Regions from separate parts of the Homo sapiens genome. Here regions 1, 2 and 3 are each linked to region 4. The links are contacts of gene promoters, found by promoter capture Hi-C in human tissues and cell types (Jung and others, 2019). All regions are on one chromosome and are shown on one strand. Each heading gives the region's core, a stretch centred on a gene start or on the middle of the fragment in contact. The rest is flanking DNA. Distances are from core to core; before and after follow the strand shown. Region 1 overlaps VWA8-AS1 (VWA8 antisense RNA 1). Region 2 overlaps DGKH (diacylglycerol kinase eta). Region 3 overlaps DGKH (diacylglycerol kinase eta). Region 4 holds the start of RGCC (regulator of cell cycle).

Evidence for each region. The method cuts DNA at HindIII sites, captures the fragments that hold promoters and counts their contacts. A contact is called where the count stands out against the background at its distance.
Region 1: a fragment that was not itself captured here is called in contact with the fragment with the promoter of RGCC in region 4 in 1 of the 25 tissues and cell types used here (dorsolateral prefrontal cortex).
Region 2: a contact is called between a fragment that was not itself captured here and the fragment with the promoter of RGCC in region 4, in 2 of the 25 tissues and cell types used here (dorsolateral prefrontal cortex and lymphoblastoid cells).
Region 3: a contact is called between a fragment that was not itself captured here and the fragment with the promoter of RGCC in region 4, in 1 of the 25 tissues and cell types used here (H1 embryonic stem cells).

The regions. Positions count from the first base shown.
Region 1 is chr13:41,970,447-41,973,146 of GRCh38, reverse strand. The region is part of intron 2 of VWA8-AS1 (VWA8 antisense RNA 1); the gene reads right to left. Among named protein-coding and RNA genes, the nearest start is that of VWA8-AS1, 11 kb to the right of the region's middle. The HindIII fragment of the contact is 7,046 bases long and covers 1-2,700 here.
Region 2 is chr13:42,068,834-42,071,563 of GRCh38, reverse strand. All of the region lies in intron 1 of DGKH (diacylglycerol kinase eta), which reads right to left. It also overlaps the pseudogene MAPK6P3. Among named protein-coding and RNA genes, the nearest start is that of DGKH, 22 kb to the right of the region's middle. The HindIII fragment of the contact is 5,329 bases long and covers 1-2,730 here.
Region 3 is chr13:42,094,824-42,097,523 of GRCh38, reverse strand. The region is part of intron 1 of DGKH (diacylglycerol kinase eta); the gene reads right to left. Among named protein-coding and RNA genes, the nearest start is that of DGKH, 48 kb to the right of the region's middle. RefSeq lists a silencer at 2,457-2,700. The HindIII fragment of the contact is 4,432 bases long and covers 1-2,700 here.
Region 4 is chr13:41,456,255-41,458,954 of GRCh38, reverse strand. It overlaps RGCC (regulator of cell cycle), which reads right to left and starts at 1,405. Exons shown (of 5, transcript NM_014059.3): 1 at 1,199-1,405; 2 at 485-670. The coding sequence starts at 1,247. RefSeq lists enhancers at 363-492, 542-1,219 and a silencer at 793-1,632. The HindIII fragment of the contact is 31,337 bases long and covers 1-2,700 here.

The sequences.
Region 1 (2,700 bases), core at 85-2,584, 510 kb before region 4:
GAGTAGTGAGGACTATAATGTAGCTGTTAGGTTGGTGCAAAAGTAATTGCAGTTTTGTCATTACTTTCAATAAATAGCAAAAACCTCAATTACATTTGTACCAATCTAATAGAAATTGTGACAAGTAACTGGGAAGGGAAAGAATCATATTGTGCCCAGATAAATAAGGAGACTTTTGTTCTTTGCCCCAAACATCCTCTCTGTACCCAGCAAGGAGGCTCTGGGGCAAAAGCTCTCAGGTGGAATAGTACCAGGGGCTAGGGTGAAGTTGGGAAATCTGGTGGTGGGGGGTCTCACAATGACAGGGTGCCATTCCTAGCATTTAATGGTCAGGCACCAGGGATAATAGACAACCTTCAGTGCCTAAGTGAACCCTCATTATAAAACTTGACCAACGCAGTTATTCAGTGTTCTTGTGCACAGTCATGTGAGGGAGAAACCTGCACCTATGTTTTAAATAGAAATATATTTTTATTTTATTTATTTTATAATTTCATTTTAATGTCTATCTGTGTATAAATATTAAATATACATACAAAAATTGTTTGCAATGTTCTAATATGCACTGAATTTTATTCTGCAGTGGTTATGGGTTGTGATTTTCCAGCAACCCTCAACTTTTAGCTAGGGAGTATGAAACACATCATGGCATTTCTGCTGTATTTTTGGGATTTCACTGGATTTGTGAAAGGGTCTTAATAAGTCGTGTAGATTTTGAACAGGCAGGTATAGTTGAGTCTCTATTTTGGGTCACAGATCATATTTTCTTCCTGCTCTAACAGTGCATACTAAGGAGAAGGAAAGGGAGTCGTTGTTTGTGAGGAACGTGAAATATGTTGAAGATGATGCCGGGCAGCTAGCTTGGAATCCTTATGATTGCTAGTTGTCTGAGCTACATGTCGTTATCCACATTTTATTGGCATTAAAACAATAAAACTAAGGAAACAAAGGCTTTCACTAACATCAAGCTAACCTTGCTGGATTATACTTCTTTTCTTACTCCTGCTTTTCCACTCACATTTTAAACTTCAAATGTTTTTGTTTTCTTTTTACGTAAAGTCACCACTTTTTCTCAAAATGGCATCCCTTGTCTTTTGTGGTTACCGATATCTCTAAAATCTGGTTTCCTTTGTCACAATCTTACGTTAGCTTTGGATGTCTTTCTCTTTTGATTTTCACGTGTAATTAGCCACTTGATAATTATTCCAAAATGGCTCTTGAATTTAACCTTCTCTTCACAACAATCAAGTCCCTAGTTACTTTACATGTAAATATGGGGAAGTTATTTATGTCCTGTAAGCCTAGGTGTTCCCATTTGTAAAACAGAAATAACTGCTCTGATACTTAGTAATCACTCAACAAAGGGTACCCAGGAGGCCATTATGGAGAACAGAATTTACAACTAGTATGAAACTTTTTTCCCAATCCCCTCCTTTGCAGCCACTGAAGAAGGGGTTCTATTCTGACATCAGCTGGTATAGTGCATTCCAATTCTGGCACTAACAATCTGGAGTTAGTACAGACCCCACCAGTTAAAGGGCATTGGTCCAAAGCAAAACAGCCCTCACTTCAGACTGTTTACAAATCCAGAGGGGGATGGGTCTCACAATAATTCACTAAAATGTCTCACATAACTCAGGAAAGTGCTATATTTACAATAACAGCTTTATTATAAAGGGTACTAGGCAGGAACAGCCAAATGTAGAGACGCATAGGGTGACATCTTGGAGGGTTCCAAATGTAGAGATTCTACACTCTCTGCCACTCTGCATTCTGGTGTGTTGAGGTGTTCATCAACCAGGAAGTTCCACTGAGCTTTGGCATCCAGAGTTTTTTGGGGTTTTGGCCACATGAGTGAGATCCATTTCCAATCCCCCTCCACTTCCTGACGGTCAGGAGGCTGGGCTGCTATCATATGGTTCAAAGCCTCAACTCTTTAATCACATAGTTGATCTTTCTGGAATGATCAGCATCCATCCTGAAGCTATCTAGGTTCCACCATGAATCACCTCATTAGCACAAACTGAAGAGTGTTCGCAAAGGCTCATGAATAATAAAGAGACTCCTATTTGTGCCAGGAACCCAGGACAAAGACCAGACAAATTATTGATTATATGACAGGCTTCAAACAGAGTTTGAAAACCACTGACCAATAGGGCAAACTCAAACTTCTAAATATAAAACAGACTAAATAGGTCCCAAGTTCCATAGGAAACTGTCTTATTTACTATGGTTTCCCAGTGAATAGTGCAGTACAGGGCATATAGCAGGCACTCAATAATATCGTATGGAACAATTTCCTTAAATTCAATCATATGTTGTCTAGGACCCTTTTCCTAGTTACTGTGAGCACCAATACATGTTTTCCCTTCCCTATATCTAATCTAGGCTCCTGGAGGCCTCTGTATATTCTGACTAAAGATTTGGTAAATGCTCGTAAACAAAGTAATCCTTCTTTATGAATAATCACAATGCATGATGCCCAAAGAATGATTTACTTAACATGTTTCAGTAGTTTGAAAGAAAACAGATATCACACACAATTTGGTCATAACACAAATAGTTCACAATGACGAATTTAGAAAATCATTTACCATTAAATTTTAGGGTCCCTTGTGTAATAGAGAAAAGGCTATAAAGGTTGAGTGTGTGTAGAATCAGTAGTTTAGAAAAAGAGTTAAGGGTCATCTGTGTTCTCAG
Region 2 (2,730 bases), core at 164-2,663, 610 kb before region 4:
TACCAGCACCTTAGAACGATGCTGCTCAGGACCAGTCCAACACTGAATGTATCTGCACTGTGAGGAGAATGTTCATAGAAGCCTGTTGTGTGCATATTTATTCACATTTTTGTTAAATGTTAAATCGTTTAGCAGAGTAATCTGAGTGCATAGTATGTCATTTCATTCTGTTTGAGTTTCTTGAGTGTCTTCTTTAAATGTCTGCAGAGTTGCTGCCCCTTTCTTGAACTATGAGTACTGCAATCTTTTAAATTCTCAACATGAGTAGAGCTTTTTGAGCTTTAAACCTACGGGGAAATCAACAGGCCTGTTTGGCAGAAGCAATGAACATCAAGAAACCATCTTGCTGTGGAAGCATAATTATTTTTCTTATCCCTTTTTGAAAGATCTTTCCTTTTGATGCCAGTTTTCTTCCTTGTTTACACAAGTTCAACAATTCCAAAGGAAAAGGCAATCATAAGGGTTTCAAAGTGGCAGAGAAATTTGAAAGTCTCATGAACATTCATGGTTTTGATCTGGATTCTACGTATATGGACTTAAAACCACTGGGTTGTGGAGGCAATTACTTGTTTTTTTCTGCTGTAGACAATGATTGTGACAAAAGAGTAGCCATCAAGAAAATTGTCCTTACCAATCCCCAGAGTGTCAAACATGCTCTATGTGAAATCAAGATTATTAGAAGACTTGACCATGATAACATTGTGAAAGTGTTTGAAATTCCTGGTCCCAGTGGGAGCCAATTAACAGATGATGTGGGCTCTCTTACGGAACTAAACAGTGTTTACATTGTTCAGGAGTACATGAAGACAGACTTGTCTAAAGTGCTGGAGCAGGGCCCTTTACTGGAAGAGCATGCCAGGCTTTTCATGTATCAGCTGCTACGGGGGCTCAAGTATATTCACTCTGCAAATGTACTGCACAGAGATCTCAAACCAACTAATCTTTTCATTAATACTGAAGACTTGGTGCTGAAGATAGGCGACTTTGGTCTTGCACGGATCATGGATCCTCATTATTCCCGTAAGAGTCATCTTTTGAAGGATTGGTTACTAAATGGTACAGATCTCCATGTCTTTTACTTTCTCCTAATAATTATACTAAAGCCATTGACATGTGGGCTGCAGGCTGCATCTCTGCTGAAATGCTGACTGTTTTGTAAAACCCTTTTTGCAGGTGCACATGAACTTGAACAGATGCAGCTGACTTTAGAATCTATTCCTGTTGCACATGAGGAAGATCGTCAGGAGCTTCTCAGCGTAATTCCAGTTTACATTAGAAATCACATGACTGAGCCACACAAACCTTTAACTCAGCTACTTCCAGGAATTAGTCGCGAAGCACTGAATTTCCTGGAACAAATTTTGACATTTAGCCCCATGGATTGGTTAATAGCAGAAGAAGCGCTCTCCCATCCTTACATGAGCATATGTTCTTTTCCAATGGATAAGCCAATTTCAAGCCATCCTTTTCATATTGAAGATGAAGCTCATAATATTTTGCTTATGGATGAAACTCACAGTCACATTTATAACTGGGAAAGGTACTATGACTGTCAGTTTTCAGAGCATGATTGGCCTATACATAACAACTTTGATATTGATGAAGTTCAGCTTAATCCAAGAGCTCTGTCTGATGTCACTGATGAAGAAGTACAAGTCGATCCCTGAAATTATTTGGATGGAGATCGGGAAAGGTATCTGGGGGATCCTGCTTTCCATACCAATTACTCTGCTGAGCCTTGTTGGCAGTACCCAGATCATCATGAAAACAAATATTGTGATCTGGAGTGTAGCCATACTTGTAATTACAAAACGAGGTCATGATCATATTTAGATAACTTAGTTTGGAGAGAGAATGAAGTTAACTGTTACTATGAACCCAAGCTTATTACAGATCTTTCCAATTGGAAAGAACAAAGCAAAGAAAAATCTGATAAGAAAAGAAAATCAAAATGTGAAAGGAATGGATTGGTTAAAGCCCAGATAGCGCTAGAGGAAGCATCACGGCAACTGGCTGGAAAAGAAAGGGAAAAGAATCAGGGATTTGATTTTCATTCCTTTATTGCAGGAACTATTCAATTTAGTTTCCAACATGAGTCTACTGATGTTGTTGATAAATTAAATCGACTTGAATAGCTCAGTGTCCCAACTAGAATTGAAAAGTTTGATATCAAAGTCAGTAAGTCAAGAAAAACAGGAAAAAGGAATGGCAAATCTGGCTCAATTAGAAACTTTGTACCCATCTTCTTGGGACAGCCAGTTTGTGAGTGATGGGGAGAACTGTTTTCTCATAAATCAGTTTTGTGAAGTAAGAAAGGATGAACAAGTTAAGAAGGAAAACACACTAGTTACTTAGACAAGTTCTTCAGCAGGAAAGAAGATCCTGAAATGCTAGAAACTGAGCCAGTAGAGGATGGGAAGCTTGGGGAGAGAGAAATGAGGAAGGATTTCTGAACAACAGTGAGGAGTTCCTCTTTAATAAGCAGCTCGAGCCCAATAGGCATCCCGCAGTTTCACAGTCCAGTTGGGTCACCACTTAAGTCAATACAGGCCACATTAACAGCTTCTGCTATGAAATCTTCCCCTCAAATTCCTCATCAAACATACAGCGGCATTCTGAACATCTGAACTAAAACACTCAGCAGACATTTATCTTTGTATTCTTATGAAATGTATTTTGTCTTTTTTATTACTAGAGTTTAAGTCATTTTTTACTTGAATCAGATGGTGT
Region 3 (2,700 bases), core at 152-2,651, 640 kb before region 4:
TTATTTGGGGATCTAACAAAGTTGAGAGAAAAGAGTTAAAAAATGCTGATAACAGGGGTTACCAACAAAATGACTAGTTTGATTAAACAGTGACGGACACAGGCGACAAGTCCCCCCACTGAACCAACACAGAGATTCCAGTCGGCTTCAAGGGTATTCGTGTTCTCTTGTGTGTGTGAATGAAAAGACAAAAAGATGAAAAATGGGGGAGATAGGGAGATAGGAAAATTACACAGTAAGTGGAAGAGGTCCAACATCTAAATAATAGTGATTCCAAAAAGAAAGACCAGAGAAAACAGAAGGAAGAGCTAATTCAAGACAATTTCCCAGAACTGAAAACTGAAAGGGAATACAAAAAGCCCACACAATGGATGAAAATAAACCCACACGAATTTCACTTTGAAGTTTCAGATTCCTAAGGAAAAGAGAAGATCCTGAAAGCCCCGGAGGGAAAGGCTGGGGAAAAGCTATTATACAAAGATCCAGCTTGTAAAGGATTTCCCAGTTCTGGAGGCTAGAACTCAGTGGAACAATGCCTTCAATGGTCTGAGAGATAAATGGCTTCTCACCTAGAATTCTAAACCCAGATGAACCACCAATCTTGTGTTAAAGAAAAATGGAACCATCTTCAGACACGGAAACCCACGTGTGCAGGACTTTTTCTTCCCATATGATCAAACTCATTGGTCCCTGAATAATCTTTGTACATTTTCCTTTCTCATGTGGTTCCCTCAACCCCACCTCAAATGATGATACCTCCATCTTGAAAGGGTCCTCAGTCAGGTAACAGGAACATTAGCTTCCAGTAGGGTAGCAATTTTATTCATCTTTGCCAATTCCACTAAACCTTGCAGAATGTGCAATGCATGACATTATTGGGTAAAAGTCATTGAAATTCATTGCCAGGAGAGAACAGGCAAGTCTGGAGTGACTGAAAAGCTTACCACATAAATGGGATCTGAATTAAATTTGAAGTCTCTCAAAAATTACTTGTCATATGGCAAAAACATGGAATCATCCCAGGTGTCCATCAATGGTGGATTAGATAAAGAAAATGTGGTACATATACACCACGGAATACTATGCAGCCATAAACAAGAATGAAATCATGTCCTTTGCAGCAACATGGATGCAGCTGGAGGCCATTGTCCTAAGCAAATTAACGCAGGAACAGAAAACCAAATACTGCCTGTTCTCATTTATAAGTGGGAGCTAAACATTGGGTACTCATAAACATAAAGATGGGAACAACAGACACTAAGGACTACTAGATGGGCAGGTGGGGAGGGGTTAAAAAATTAACTGTTGGGTACTGTGTTCAGTACCTGGGTGACAGGATCACTCATACTCCAAACCTCAGCATCCCACAATATACCCGGGTAACAAACCTGCACATGGACCCCCCTGAACATAAAAGTTTAAAATAAAATGAAAATCAAATTAAATTTGAAAGACAAAACATTACTTGTTGTGACCTAAAACTACTGAATTTACAAAAATCAAAATATAAGTATTCATAAAATCAAAAAAGTTTTCAATTCTATTAAGAAAATAACAAGCAATGACATAGAAACAATATAACTTTAAAATAAACAATTAGACATTTGTAAGTACTCTGTTCTATAAATTTAGACAGATTGGTTCAAGCAAATGTAAAGTTTTTAAACCAGAATGCCAACAAATGCATAGTTACTTCCCAACTAGTGAACAAGTCAGGTTATAAACTTAATTGAATTGTAATTATGGCAGTATTAGGCTAATAGTTATCCATAGGTACCAAATCAAATACTGCTTTATAGAAGTGGGGCATATAAATATATATTCACATAGATATATAGAGATGGTAAAATTTTAAATTCATTTTAAGAAAAACAGGAAGAACGAGTTTCCTTTGCTTTTCTTTGAAGGAGAGGGAATATAGAAGAAAATTGGGAGGAACAAAAAATTACTAATCATCAGTGTCTAATTCAAGTTAAAAGGCTAAAAACACAGCTCCTAACTCCAACATGTAATTTCTTCTACCAATAGGTATTAAGCACTCATTAAAAGTAGTCAACATTTGGCTGGGTGCAGTGGCTCATGCCTATAATCCCAGCACTTGGAGAGGCTGAGGCAGGGGGATCACTTGAGTTCAGGTGTTCAAGACCAGCCTGGCCAACATGGTGAAATCCCATCTCTACAAAAAATAAAAAAATTAGCCAGGCATGGTGGCAGGTGCCTGTAATCCCAGTTACTCAGGAGGCTGAGGCAGGAGAATCACTTGAACCTGGGAGGCAGAGGCTGCAGTGAGCCAAGATCGCACCACTGCACTCCAGCCTGGGCAACAGAGGGAGACTCTGTCTCAAAAAAAAAAAAAAAAAAAAAAAAGGAGTCAACATTTATTGAGCGGCTGCTATATCTAGGAAAGTATTACAGTAGTATCTCCCACAGTCAAAATGGAAAAAATTATAAAGCAGGAAAGCGTCTCAGGAGGACCCACCGCTCCTTCCATGGCCCCTTCATATCCTGCTGCCCAATTTTTCCTTTCCTTCCCAGGTTAACACAAGTTTTTTGCCTTATTTCAAGGGTTTCTATAGTTAGGGAACTAGCTGACACATATCCCACTACCCATTTGTTTTCTGCTACCTTTCTACAGGTTTTCTTTTCAAACACAATTGCTAAAAATCTGGCAGGAAATAAGTGAGTGGTAGCAATGATACA
Region 4 (2,700 bases), core at 156-2,655:
ATGCAAGCAGTTATTTCATAAATCCCAAGAACAGCAGTTTGGGCTTATGAAACCTTTCCTGGTTTCATGAATATTTCCGTTCTGCGCCCTCCCATGTCCCCACTGTGCCCCCTCATTCCACTGGCACTTGTTCCACATCTGCAAAGTTACAGCTGAGAGGGGAGAGGCACGGAAAGGAGAAGAGGAGGGAAACTGCGGAAAGGCCTGGTGCAGGTCCAGGGAGTCCTGTCTGGCTGAGTCGGGACAAGCTGCTTAAACTCGCCTGCCTGGTGACACACCCGTGGGCGGCAAGTGAACCAACCTGCCCTCCAGCGACCTTTCCCGTGATTATCGTCAGGGGCCCCGCCACCACTCGGCCTACTGCGTTGAGCTTCAGGAAACCATTCCTCAGTTTACTGATAAGAAAACTGAGGCCGCAGCCTTCGCGGGGCAGGTCCTGGGAGCTGGGAGATCCCGGCGCCATCCTAGCGGGGGCCGCACTTACTCTCCGAGTCGCTGAAGCCGCTGCTGTCGCTGACACTGGCGCTGCTGCGCCGCTTCATGCGCTCCAGGTGCTCCTCGTAGTGGAAGTGGCGCTCGTGGAAGGGCGACGCGAAGTCGGCCAGCACCGCGTCAAACTCGCACAGCGCGTCCGACAGGTCCTCCGCGGCCGCCGAGTCCAGGGCCGGGGCTGCGGGCAGGGCCAGGGGCTCAGTGCACGGAAGTCAGGGGGGCAGCGGGACCACCTCCCAGGGCCAGGAGGGGCCGCCACGGTTCCCGAAGATAACTGACACTTGGCGCCTCTGCCAAGTGACAGCCACGCAGTCGCTGTTACCTTGTAATCTTCTCCACCACCCCCGAAGTGCGTTCTATTACCAAGTCCGTTTTACAGACAAGAAAACTGAGCCTTCGCCAGGCCCAGGGTCACCCAGCGACTTGGCGCGGCCAGATTCCTCCCCAGGCGCTGCCGGTTACCTGTCCCCGCCGCTCCCCCCAACCCCGGGCGCGCGCGGAGCTGGTGGTGGAGGGAAGGTGGGACATGGGGGCCAGCCCGGGCCGGAAAGGAGGCTGCAGCCGCCCGCGCGGGAAGACCGGGGACAGGTTCCCGCCGGGGAGGATGGAAGGGTGGGGGGTGTGAAGGGACGACACGGGGCCCCTCCTTTCTCACCCGCCATCTGCAGAGCCGAGACTTTAAGGGGACCCCGGACCCCGCACTCACCTGCGGCCGCGGCGGCCGCGGGGCTGCCCTGCGCCGCGGGCGGCTTCATGAGGCGGCTCAGCTGGGCCCGGCGCGCGTGGCCTTGGGTCCTGCGAGGTGGCAGCCGGGGCTATTCGGGGGCTTGCTGTCCCGCACACTTCAGCCCTGCCAGTCCCTTCGGCGCTGCGCTCCAGCCGCGCCGCTCCCAGCACGGTCCGCGCCCGCCCTACCACCGGCTCGGGTTCCTAGATCTTATAGCCTTCGGCGGCCGGAGCGGAGGCGGGGCCGGGGCGGGGCTGCGGAGCCGGGGCGACGGGTCTGTCCCCGCCGCCCTCCGAGGAGGCCCCTGCCCCCAGGCACCGCCCTCGCCACGCGCCCGCCCTGGAACCGCGGTGACGAGGAGTCGCCGAAGCCCCGGTTACAGCCCCAAATATTTACCCGCCTCTCGCCCCCGCGCCCTGACAACCCGGCCCACGCGGTGTCCTCGGCGTCACCAGAGCTGACTGCTGGGCGCGAGCTCTGCTGCTTCCCGCCGCGTGCCAGGCACCTCCGCGAGCCGCAGCTTCCTCGGCTGTGAAGTGGACGTGGGCATGCAGAGCCTCCCTGGCTGGCGGTGAGGGACGAAGGAGCCCGCGGCCGTGTCCCAGTCGGGTGTCGGGGACGCGGAGGTCCCCTACGCATTGTCCCAAGGGGACTTCCGAGATGGTGGGCGGGCGGAGTGGAGAGGGTCGGGGCGAGAGGGGCAGGAGTTGGGGGAGTCCTGAACTGTTCCCACCGCGGAGCGCGGGGGCCTGAACTACGGTCCAGGGCGCTCCCGCCAGCCTGACTTTATCTAGAAGGGGTTTATTATGGGAAGAAACTACTGCGTCGACGCAGCGCGAACAGGGCGCCTTGCAGTGTCCACGGAGTAACGAGCCACCCTGCCCCGCGGCCTGCGGGGGCGAACGCCCTGGACTGTGCGCTGAGCTAGGCGCTAGCCTCTCGCCTCTCACCACAGACGGCTAATTAAATGTAGAGCAATTAACATGTAACGGAGTGAAACATTCAGCCTCCACTCCCAGCTAGTTTTTGTATTTTTAGCAGAGACGGGGTTTGTCCATGTTGGCCAGGCTGGTCTCGAACTCCCGACCTCAGGTGATCTGCCCACCTCAGCCTCCCAAAGTGCTGGGATTACAGGCGTGAGCCACCGCACCCAGCCAGGATTTGTTTTCAGAATATAGAAAGACCCATCTACAAAGTAATCACAAATAGACAACCTGGTAAAAATTAAAAATGAGCAAAACATTGAAACATACACCTCACAAAGGAGTATATGTTAATGACCACTAATCATATGAATAGTCCTCCTCTCTTGTCTACTCTGGGTGGCCTAGGGATATGCTTGTCTTGTGGAGGCACAAGCACTGTGGGCTCAAGAGTGGGGAGCCTCTTTCCCTGTTAAGGGGAGGACACCACTGGGATCTCTGGTGCCATCTCCTGCAATGGATCCTCTGATGTGGGGTCGAACAGAACTTCAGGAGTTG